Regions from separate parts of the Homo sapiens genome. Here region 1 is linked to region 2. Evidence: promoter capture Hi-C in 16 types of primary human blood cells and fetal thymus (Javierre and others, 2016). All regions are on one chromosome and are shown on one strand. The core of a region is centred on a gene start or on the middle of the fragment in contact, and the rest is flanking DNA. Distances in the headings are between cores, read along the strand shown. Region 1 overlaps ENTHD1 (ENTH domain containing 1). Region 2 holds the start of CACNA1I (calcium voltage-gated channel subunit alpha1 I).

Evidence for each region. Contacts are between HindIII fragments. The CHiCAGO score rates a contact against its expected background, and 5 or more counts as called.
Region 1: a contact is called between a fragment that was not itself captured here and the fragment with the promoter of CACNA1I in region 2, in 1 of 17 cell types (naive CD8 T cells). The highest score is 5.3, in naive CD8 T cells.

Annotation. Positions count from the first base shown.
Region 1 is chr22:39,859,065-39,863,517 of GRCh38, forward strand. ENTHD1 (ENTH domain containing 1) reads right to left here. Exons shown (of 7, transcript NM_152512.4): 3 at 2,701-2,943. Among named protein-coding and RNA genes, the nearest start is that of ENTHD1, 32 kb to the right of the region's middle. The HindIII fragment of the contact is 1,163 bases long and covers 1,567-2,729 here.
Region 2 is chr22:39,568,510-39,573,057 of GRCh38, forward strand. It overlaps CACNA1I (calcium voltage-gated channel subunit alpha1 I), which reads left to right and starts at 2,244. Exons shown (of 37, transcript NM_021096.4): 1 at 2,244-2,479. The coding sequence starts at 2,244. The HindIII fragment of the contact is 9,228 bases long and covers 1-3,158 here.

The DNA of each region.
Region 1 (4,453 bases), core at 898-3,397, 290 kb after region 2:
GTACTTGTGTGTTATGGTGACAGTTGCTTTCCTTGAACCTCATGAACCCACCTCTGCTAGCTTCAAGATTTTCTTCTGCAGTTTCCTCTTCTCTCTCAGTCTTTGCAGAATTAAAGACAGTTAGAACCTTGCTCTGGATTAGGCTTTGGCTTAAGTGATAATGGGGCTAGTTGGATCTTCTATCCAGACCATGCAACCTTTCTCTATAACAGCAATAAAGCTGTTTCCCATTCTTATCATTCCCGTATTCATTGGAGCAGCACTTCTAATTTCCTTCCAGAACTTTTCCTTTACATTCATAACTTAGCTAACTGTTTGGCACAAGAGGCCTACCTTTCAGCCTGTTTCGGCTTTCAACATGCCTTTCTCACTAAGTTTAACCATTTCTAGCTTTTGAATTAAAGTGAGAAACCTGCGACTCTTCCTTACACTTGAACACTTAGAGGCCATTGTAGGGTTATTAATTGGCTTAATTTCAATATTGTTGACCCTCAGGGACTAGGGAGACCCAAGGAGAGAGAGAGAGATCGGGATCAGTGAAGCAGTCAGAACACACATGACATCTATCAGTAAGTTCACTGGTCTTCTACAGCCATGGTTTGTGGTACCCCAAAACAATTACAACAGTAACATCTAAGATCACTGATCATAGATCACCATGACACATATAATAATAAGGAAAAAGTTAAAAATATTGCAAGAACTACCAAAATGTGACACAGACACAAAGTATGCACATGCTATCAGAAAAATGGTGCCAATAAACTTCTTGGGTACAGGATTGCCACAAACCTTCAATTTGTAAAATATACGTTATCTGTGAAGTGTAATTAAGCAAAGTGCAATCGATCGAGGTATGCCTGTATGTGGGTTGCTCCCTCACTTCATTCAGGTCTGTTTGAAGATTCACTTCCTCCAAAAGGCCCTCTCTCATTACGTGACCTAAAATAAACCCACCCCTGTCACTCTGTTCCCTGACCCTGCTTTCCTTTTCTTTACAGGACTTGTTATTATCTGACATATTTTATGCTTGTGACAGAGACATCCCAGTCTCTACCACTAGAATGTTAGTTCCATGATAAAAGAAAACTTATTTTACTCACTCCTATAGTTCCAAATTTCTGCTGAATATCCAAATTTTAAATAAATTCAATAATTATGTGTTTACAATGAAAGAAGAAAGAACTGACAAAAGAAAGGAAGAAGGAAGAGTAAGAAAGGTAACATCGAAGAAGCAAAAGTGGGGAAGAAACTCTGGATGAGTCATAATTGGTTATTCTTCTCTGTTACTCTGTTTTTAGCATCAGTTTGATTTAAAGGCTCCCATGAGAAAATTTCAGAATGAGTGGCTGTCTCTTTCGGAGATTTATTTCAAAAGAATCAGATCCCCTAAAGATCCCACCACTTTTAGAAGCCGGTAGGTAGTATTTGCTACTATAATTACAATGGCTACCCTCTTATAATGTCTCTCTCCAATCCCAAGTGTGGATGTTCACTCTATGTCTCACTGGGTGAACGTTTGAAACTCTTGATTAAGACAGAAAAGTACCTGAATGATTTTTAGCAAGCTTAACTTGTGTTGGTATTACTAGTAACATTGTTACATTTTTGCACTTAACTGACAGTTGGAATTATCTATTTGTACTGAATACAAAGGGACAGTTCTCTAAGTCACATTTCACTAATGTTTTTGCTTCCTCAAGCTGTCCATTTCTCATACACAACTTATCAACAGGGTTTCTACTGGAGAAGTTAGAGCAAAATGACATTTTTTAAAGTTTTAGCAAATTTGGTAGAAAAGATGATAGCATTTTTCTACTCATGTCTATTATAACATTATAAATAAATCCCTCTGTTATAAAAGTTCAGTAGTCCATATTTAAAGTTTTAAGCAAAGGAAAGGGTAAAAGGTATTGTCCTAGAATAATTTTAGAGCACTTTTAGGATTCTGAAGCATACTTTAGAAAATTTCAATTACTTGATTTATGTTACAGGATCAAAGAGACCTCATACGCACATAACTAGACACCTAGTCTTAGAAAACTGTACTCCTTCACTTTCCAGTTAAGGATAAAAAACTTAAAATTGAATCACGATGCCAAATAGGGTAGTCACTAGTTTAATACCTTAAAAGCTCAAAAACATTTTATTTGAATCAAAGATAACTGCATTCAGAAAACAGTCATAAAACTGGGCTGGGCACAGTGGCTCACGCCTATAATCCCAGCACTTTCGGAGGCCAAGGCAGGAGGATCACTTGAGGTCATGAGTTCGAGACCAGCCTGGGCAACATGCTGAAACCCTGTCTCTACTAAAAATACAAAAATTAGCTGGGCATGGTGATGGGTGCCTGTAATCCCAGCTACTCAGGAGGCTGAGTCAGGAGAATTGCTTGAACCCAGGAGACAGAGGTTGCAGTGAGCTGAGATAGTGCCACTACACTCCAGCCTAGGAGACAGAGCAAGATTCCGTCTCAAAAATAAATAAATAAATAAATAAAGCAAACAAATAAACTTTAAAAAGGTCATAAAATCTTCTATTGAATATTCTTCGTTGTTGTTTTCTATAGTATGAAGCCTAATATGGTAATAGTAATACTAAATAATATTAATAATTTAGTACTAAAACATAATATTTTATATTTTTAAATCATTTTTAATGATACCTGTTGCATTTTAGGCCAATGTTCATTATACGTACTTTTATTATGTAACCTTCCAAACTTAGGAAGCTTATACTTCTTCTCTGAAGCAGAAATATCCGGTGTGGGGGCAGAAGTGCACGCTGTCAGTGAGTTACTTGAACCAAGTTGTCTTTTAGAAAACAATATAGAGTGGGAGGTACGCTGTCTAGTCCGACATGCCACTTCCCTCTCTTTACACAGCAATGGTTCATCCATCAGCAATGTGATGACTTGCTTAGATTTTTCCCGGATATAATAACCTGAAAAATACATTGACTCTGCTTAGAAAAGGAAATACTAGTTAAGGCTATAATTAATTTTTTTTCTACAGAAATTTTTTTAAAAATAAAAATCTCAGCAGTGAAAAAACCTGCAGCAAATAAAGAACTACTGATAAGTATATTCCTTTTCTTATACTTTAAAAGGTAAATAAGTCATTAATATATGATAAAATTATATACTGGCATTACATTTTTCACTTTAAATACATTATTGGATTTTCCTTTTAAAAGCAATATATGGCTGGGTGCGGTGGCTCATGGCTGTAATCTCAGCACTTTGGGAGGCTGAAGTGGGCAGATCACGAGGTCAGGAAATCAAGACCATCCTGGCCAATATGGTGAAACCTTGTCTCTACTAAAATACAAAAAACTAGCTGGGCATGGTGGCATGTGCCTGTAGTCCCAGCTACTCAGGAAGCTGAGACAGGGGAATCACTTGAACTCAAGAGGTAGAGGTTGCAGTGAGCTGAGATTGCACCACTGCACTCCAGCTTGGCAAGAGAGCGAGACTCTGTCTCAAAAAAAAAAAAAAAAAGAAAGAAAAAGCAATAATACTTTGCAATAATCAAACAATATAGGCATACAAAGAAGGGGTATGAATTAGATCTAGATATACTGACCTAGATGTATGACCAGGACACATGGTTAAAGATTTAGAGTAACATACACAATAGGATTTGAAGCTGTAACATATAGAGGAAAAGAAATCACCATATATGTACACGGAAGAGAGAAGCAGATAAAGAAATACATACAACTGTGGTTTGAATGTATCCCCTCCAAAATTCAAGTACTGCCAATGTGATAGCATTAAGAGGTGGAGCCTTTAAGAGGTGATTATGCCATGAGGTCACCTCCTTTGTGAACAGACTAAAGGTCCTTATAAAAGAGGCTTCCCACAGCATTTGTCTCTTGCTTGCCTTCCACCATCGCCTTTCGGACCTTCTGTCACATGAGGACACAGCATTCCTCCCTTCCAGAGGATGCAGCATCAAGGCGCCATCTTGGAAGCAGACAGCAGCCCTCACTAGACAACTGAACCTGCCAGTGCCCTGAACCTGGACTCTCCAGCCTCCAGAACCATGAGAAAATAAATTTCTCTTCTTTCTAAATTACCCAGTCTGTGATACTCTGTTATAGCAGCACAAGCAGACTAAGACAGATAGACAGACAGGCAAGAATATAGGAAGGCAGGCAGGCAGGCAAACAGATGGCATACTCAGAATATTGTTAACATCTGTTACCTTACAGGGGTACAGTTGGGGTGGGACAAGAAAAGGGAGAGCAATTGGCTTTTCTCTGACGTAACATCCTATCAAAACAATTTGCTGCTTTTTAACAGAGTGACAGAGCACAGTCAAAGACAAGAATTCTAGTGAGAGTGATAGCTCTGTCCTTAACCATCTGTGTGACTTTCAGTCAGTCAGGTGGTCTATCTGGGCCTGAGTCTTCTATCTGAAAAGCAGCACAAGCAGTATCTGTATGGTTG
Region 2 (4,548 bases), core at 994-3,493:
ATGAATCAGTAGGGCCTGGGAGAACAGGGCCTGGGCGGAAGGAGAAGGTGCCCCAGTGAGAGGGAAGAGCGGGAGCAGGGCCTAGGACCTGAGGAGGTCCAATCTGGCCAGAGCAAATGGCCAGGGGAGGGAGTGGTGGGCTCCGAGGCTGGCACGGTGGTGGGCAGAGCTGGAACCACCCTAGGGAGGGTGCGTTTCAGCCCAGGAGGTTGACACGTGGCAGGCCAAGGTGCCTGGGAGCTTATGTAAGGCCCGTGGCTGTTTTTCTGGAATCAAGAGCAAAGCCCTGAGCTCAGGAGAAAACTCCGCCTCCCTGACCAGCCAGGGGAAGTGGCAGGAGGTGCCAACCCCTGCCCGTTGCCCCCGGGAGCCAGAGAAATGTCCAAATGCATCAGCTCCGGGTGGCTTGGTCGACAGCCCAGCAGCAGCTGGGTGGGCACCAGGGACGTGGACCCCATCTCTCAATCCCACGGCTCAGACTGGCCCTGTAGGGGTTCTAGGATCCCAGGGACCCCAGTGGACAAAGTTTTAGGGACTAGTACCCTTTGGGGTGAGGTGGTGAGGGGCAGGCCCTGGGAGTGGCTGTCCGTCCCATCTTGCCATTGACTGGTTGCGGAGGCTCTCGGCCAGCGAGGGCACCATCAGTTGTCATGAAGCCCGCCTGGGGGTCTGGTGCTGGGATTCTGGCCTCTCAACACCACCTAGTGCTTCACTTGGCTGGGTGCATAGCCTTGACAACCCGCTTTGTTCTCTTGGCCTCAGTTTCTTCACCTGCCAAATGGGCATAATAGTCCTCCTGAGGTTGTTGTGAGCATCAGACAAGGCCAGGGAGTAGAAGTGCTTTGAGTTGGAGTCGGAGCCAGCAAGATGATTTGCATCACCTAGAACAAAATGAAAATGTGGGACCTCTTGATAAGCAATTAAGAATTTCATGTTGGTGACAGAAGAATTCTAAAGCAAGTTCAGGGCCCTTCTGAGCACGGGGCCCTGTGCAGCTGCCTGAGCCACAGACCCAGGAAGCGGGCTCTGACCGGAATTCTTTTTTTTTTTTTTTTTTGGTGACAGAGTCTTGCTCTGTTGCCCAGGCTGGAATGCAGTGGTGTGATCTTGGCTCACTGCAACCTCCACCTCCCGGGTTCAAGTGATTCTCATGCCTCAGCTTCCCGAGTAGCTGAGATTACAGCGTGTGCCACCACACCCAGCTAATTTTTGTATTTTTAGTACAGATGAGGTCTCACTATGTTGGCCAGGTTGGCCTCAAACTCCTGACCTCAGGTGATCCACCCACCTTGGCCTCCCAAAGTGCTGGGATTACAGGTGTGAGTCACGTGCCTGGCCTTTGACTGGAATTCTATTTCTGCTGTTACTCTGCTACATGTCTGTCCTGTCCCTTCTCTGGGCCTCGGTTTCTTCATCTGTAAGGCAAGGAGGTTAGACTCTAAGATTCCTGGGTTCTCAGCCTTGTAAGGCAGTGGCTGGGAGGTCCCTGGGTCAAGGGCTCAGCTGTAGGTCTCAGCTCAGGGGTTACTTCCTCAGGGAAGCCAACTGTGATTCCCTCCTGGCTTGCCAGCGTTCCCCCAGTCTCTGATTCTGCAGCACCCCAACATTGCCTTTGTAACCTGCATTGTCCTGGCAATAATGTCTGTCTTTACAATCACCTCTTTTTTCTTGCAAGTTTTCTTTACCTTTGATGGTGCAATAAATACATAGCTCTAGTCTTGTAAAAAAGTTAAGATCCCTTCCTTCCTTCCTTCCTTCCTTCCTTCCTTCCTTCCTTTCTTCCCTCCCTCCCTCCCTCTCTCCCTCTCTCCCTCCCTTCCGTCTTTCTTTTCTGTCTATAATTACTTAAACATTTTTTCTCTTAAATAATGAAAGATTTCAAATACAGAAAATTGCCAATAGACAAAAAAAAAAGAGTTAATATCACAATTATATTCTAAGAAGGCTTTATTCTCCCCACTATCTTCGTTTGCCAAAACTGAGGCTCAGCCAGGGTGAGCAGACTTGCCCCATGATCACCCAGCTTGGAAGCAGATTCCAAGTTGGGTGCAGCTGGGCCCTCAGCTGTTTCGTAATCCTCATGCAAGAGTGAGGGTGAGGGGCCTGTGGGGCTCAGGTGGGGCTGTCAGAGCTGCATCCGTCCACTTATTGGTGGAGAGGCAGGTTGGGGAGCATGTACCAGGCCTGTCCCCACCACGTGCCACCCTCTCTGTCTTCCCCAGGGCTCCCAGCTCAGTGTGGACATGGCTGAGAGCGCCTCCCCGCCCTCCTCATCTGCAGCAGCCCCAGCCGCTGAGCCAGGAGTCACCACGGAGCAGCCCGGACCCCGGAGCCCCCCATCCTCCCCGCCAGGCCTGGAGGAGCCTCTGGATGGAGCTGATCCTCATGTCCCACACCCAGACCTGGCGCCTATTGCCTTCTTCTGCCTGCGACAGACCACCAGCCCCCGGAACTGGTGCATCAAGATGGTGTGCAACCCATATCCTCCGCAGCCTCGGCTGATCGGGGCCCTGCAGGGGCTGAAGGGTGGGGGGCTGGATTGAGTCCTGCTGCTCACACCTTGCTCCGGCTGGGAGACCTGAGGTCTGCGGTGAGGCCACTGGGCCTTGGTGGTGGTGAGCGAGCTCAGAGGGTGGGTCTGGGGAGACCTCAAATGGATGAGGACCTGGTGTTCTGCTGATGTGAAGGTTCTGGAAGTTGCTGGTGGCTGTGGGGTCAGTCCAGTGGCTGGCTGGCTCAGAAAGTCCTTGAGTGTGGGCCCCAGACCTGTGCTGGGCTGGGAATGCAGATCAGTCAGACTCTGGAGCCACCTGATGGGCCGTGACCATACAGAGGATGGGAGCCGTGATCAGGAACTGTGGGCGTGGGCAGCGGGGCAGCCGATCCCAACACACAGGGCAGGACTCATTCTCCTTACTGTGCCTCCGAGCAGCCTCTTCCCAGGCCTCCTGCCTCCACTTGCTGCCTCCAGTGGGCTCATGTTCCCCCTGCTTAAGACTGTCATGATTTGCTATGGTCCTGGAGGTGCAGAGCAAAGTCCTAATCCAACCCATCAGGGCCTGTGTGTTCCACCCAGCCTCACTTCCCACCACTTGGCTTCCCCCCTGTGCTCTTCTGAGCCTCAGGGTCCTCTCACTGGCTCTTCCCCCTGTCTGAAAAGCTTTTCCCTTCCCCCTGGACCTGGCCAAATCCTTTGCTACATCCTTAAAATCCCAGCTTAAGCATCACCTCCTCAGGGAAGCCCTCTGGGATTCCTCCTCTGCTTCATATCTAACTGTCACATCTAACTGTGGAATTCTGAATCTAACATTTGCCTCCCCTGGGGTACTGTCAGATGACTGGGATGGGGACCCTAGCACCTGGCACAGTGCTTGGCACATCGTGGGTGCTCTGGCAGTGTTTGCTGGGTGTACATGGGCAATGCCAGAGCTGACTCCTCAATAAGGAAGAGCGTTGGTTGGGTAGAGAGGGTAGTGGGAGGCAGGAGGAGGGCATGGCAGGAGCGAAGCCTGGAGAAGGGAGGAGTTGCAGGCAGTGTTGGAGCCCTGAGGGGCAGAGAGGAGTGAGGTGAGGCTGCAGGTGTGGCGGGAGCCCTGCAGGGCCTTGGAGGCTGCATGAGGGATGGGACTGTGCTCCAAGGGCAGGATTTGAAGCAGGGTCTGGAGAGATCTGTGCTCTGGAAGGACTGTGTGGCACTGGCTTGCAGGGTGAAGTGGGGGCTGGGGACCACTGAGGAGGAGGCTTGGGGACCCAAGCCATGGTGGCCTTGTGGTTTGAGGGTCCCACCAAAAAATGCCCATATGTGGCTCGAGGTTCTGGTGCTTGTGGCCACACAGGGCAGGGTGCGGGGAGCTGGTGGGTCAGGTGCAGGCCTGAGTCCTGCCCTGGAATCCAGGGATGCCAGATGCAGGCTGGGATGTTGAGACTGGCTGCAGGACTGCCAGGCTTCCCTTCTGTAGGGGGCTGAGGTGATCGTGGGCCCTGGATCCCCCTAACTTTTGGAAACCAGCGGGTCTCTGCTGGAGTGGGATGCAGAACTGGGTGTTCCTTGCTGGGTGGGGGCTAAGAGCCTCCCTGCTCCTTCTGGGGGACGGCTCACAGCGTCTCAGGCTTGGTGAGAGGGTCTGCTCGGTAATTAGTTCACCCAGCACTCACTGACATCTGCCCTGGGACACTGAGGACAAAGAGGCAGAGCTGGTGTCTGTCCCAGGGAGTGCCCGGGGAAGAGGGAAGCAGGGACCACCCATTTGGCTAGTTTTTTTTTTTAGATGGAGTCTCGCTCTGTCACCCAGGCTGGAGTGCAGTGGCGCGATCTCGGCTCACTGCAACCTCCGCCTCCCAGGTTCAAGCAATTCTCCTGCCTCAGCCTCCCGAGTAGCTGGGACTACAGGCACCCACCGCCATGCCCTACTAATTTTTGTATTTTTAGTAGAGATGGGGTTTCACCATGTTGGTCAGGCTGGTCTCGAACTCCTGACTCGTGAACCGCCTGCCTCGGCCTCCCAAAGTGCTGGGATTACAGGTGTGAGCCACTGTGCCCAGCCTACG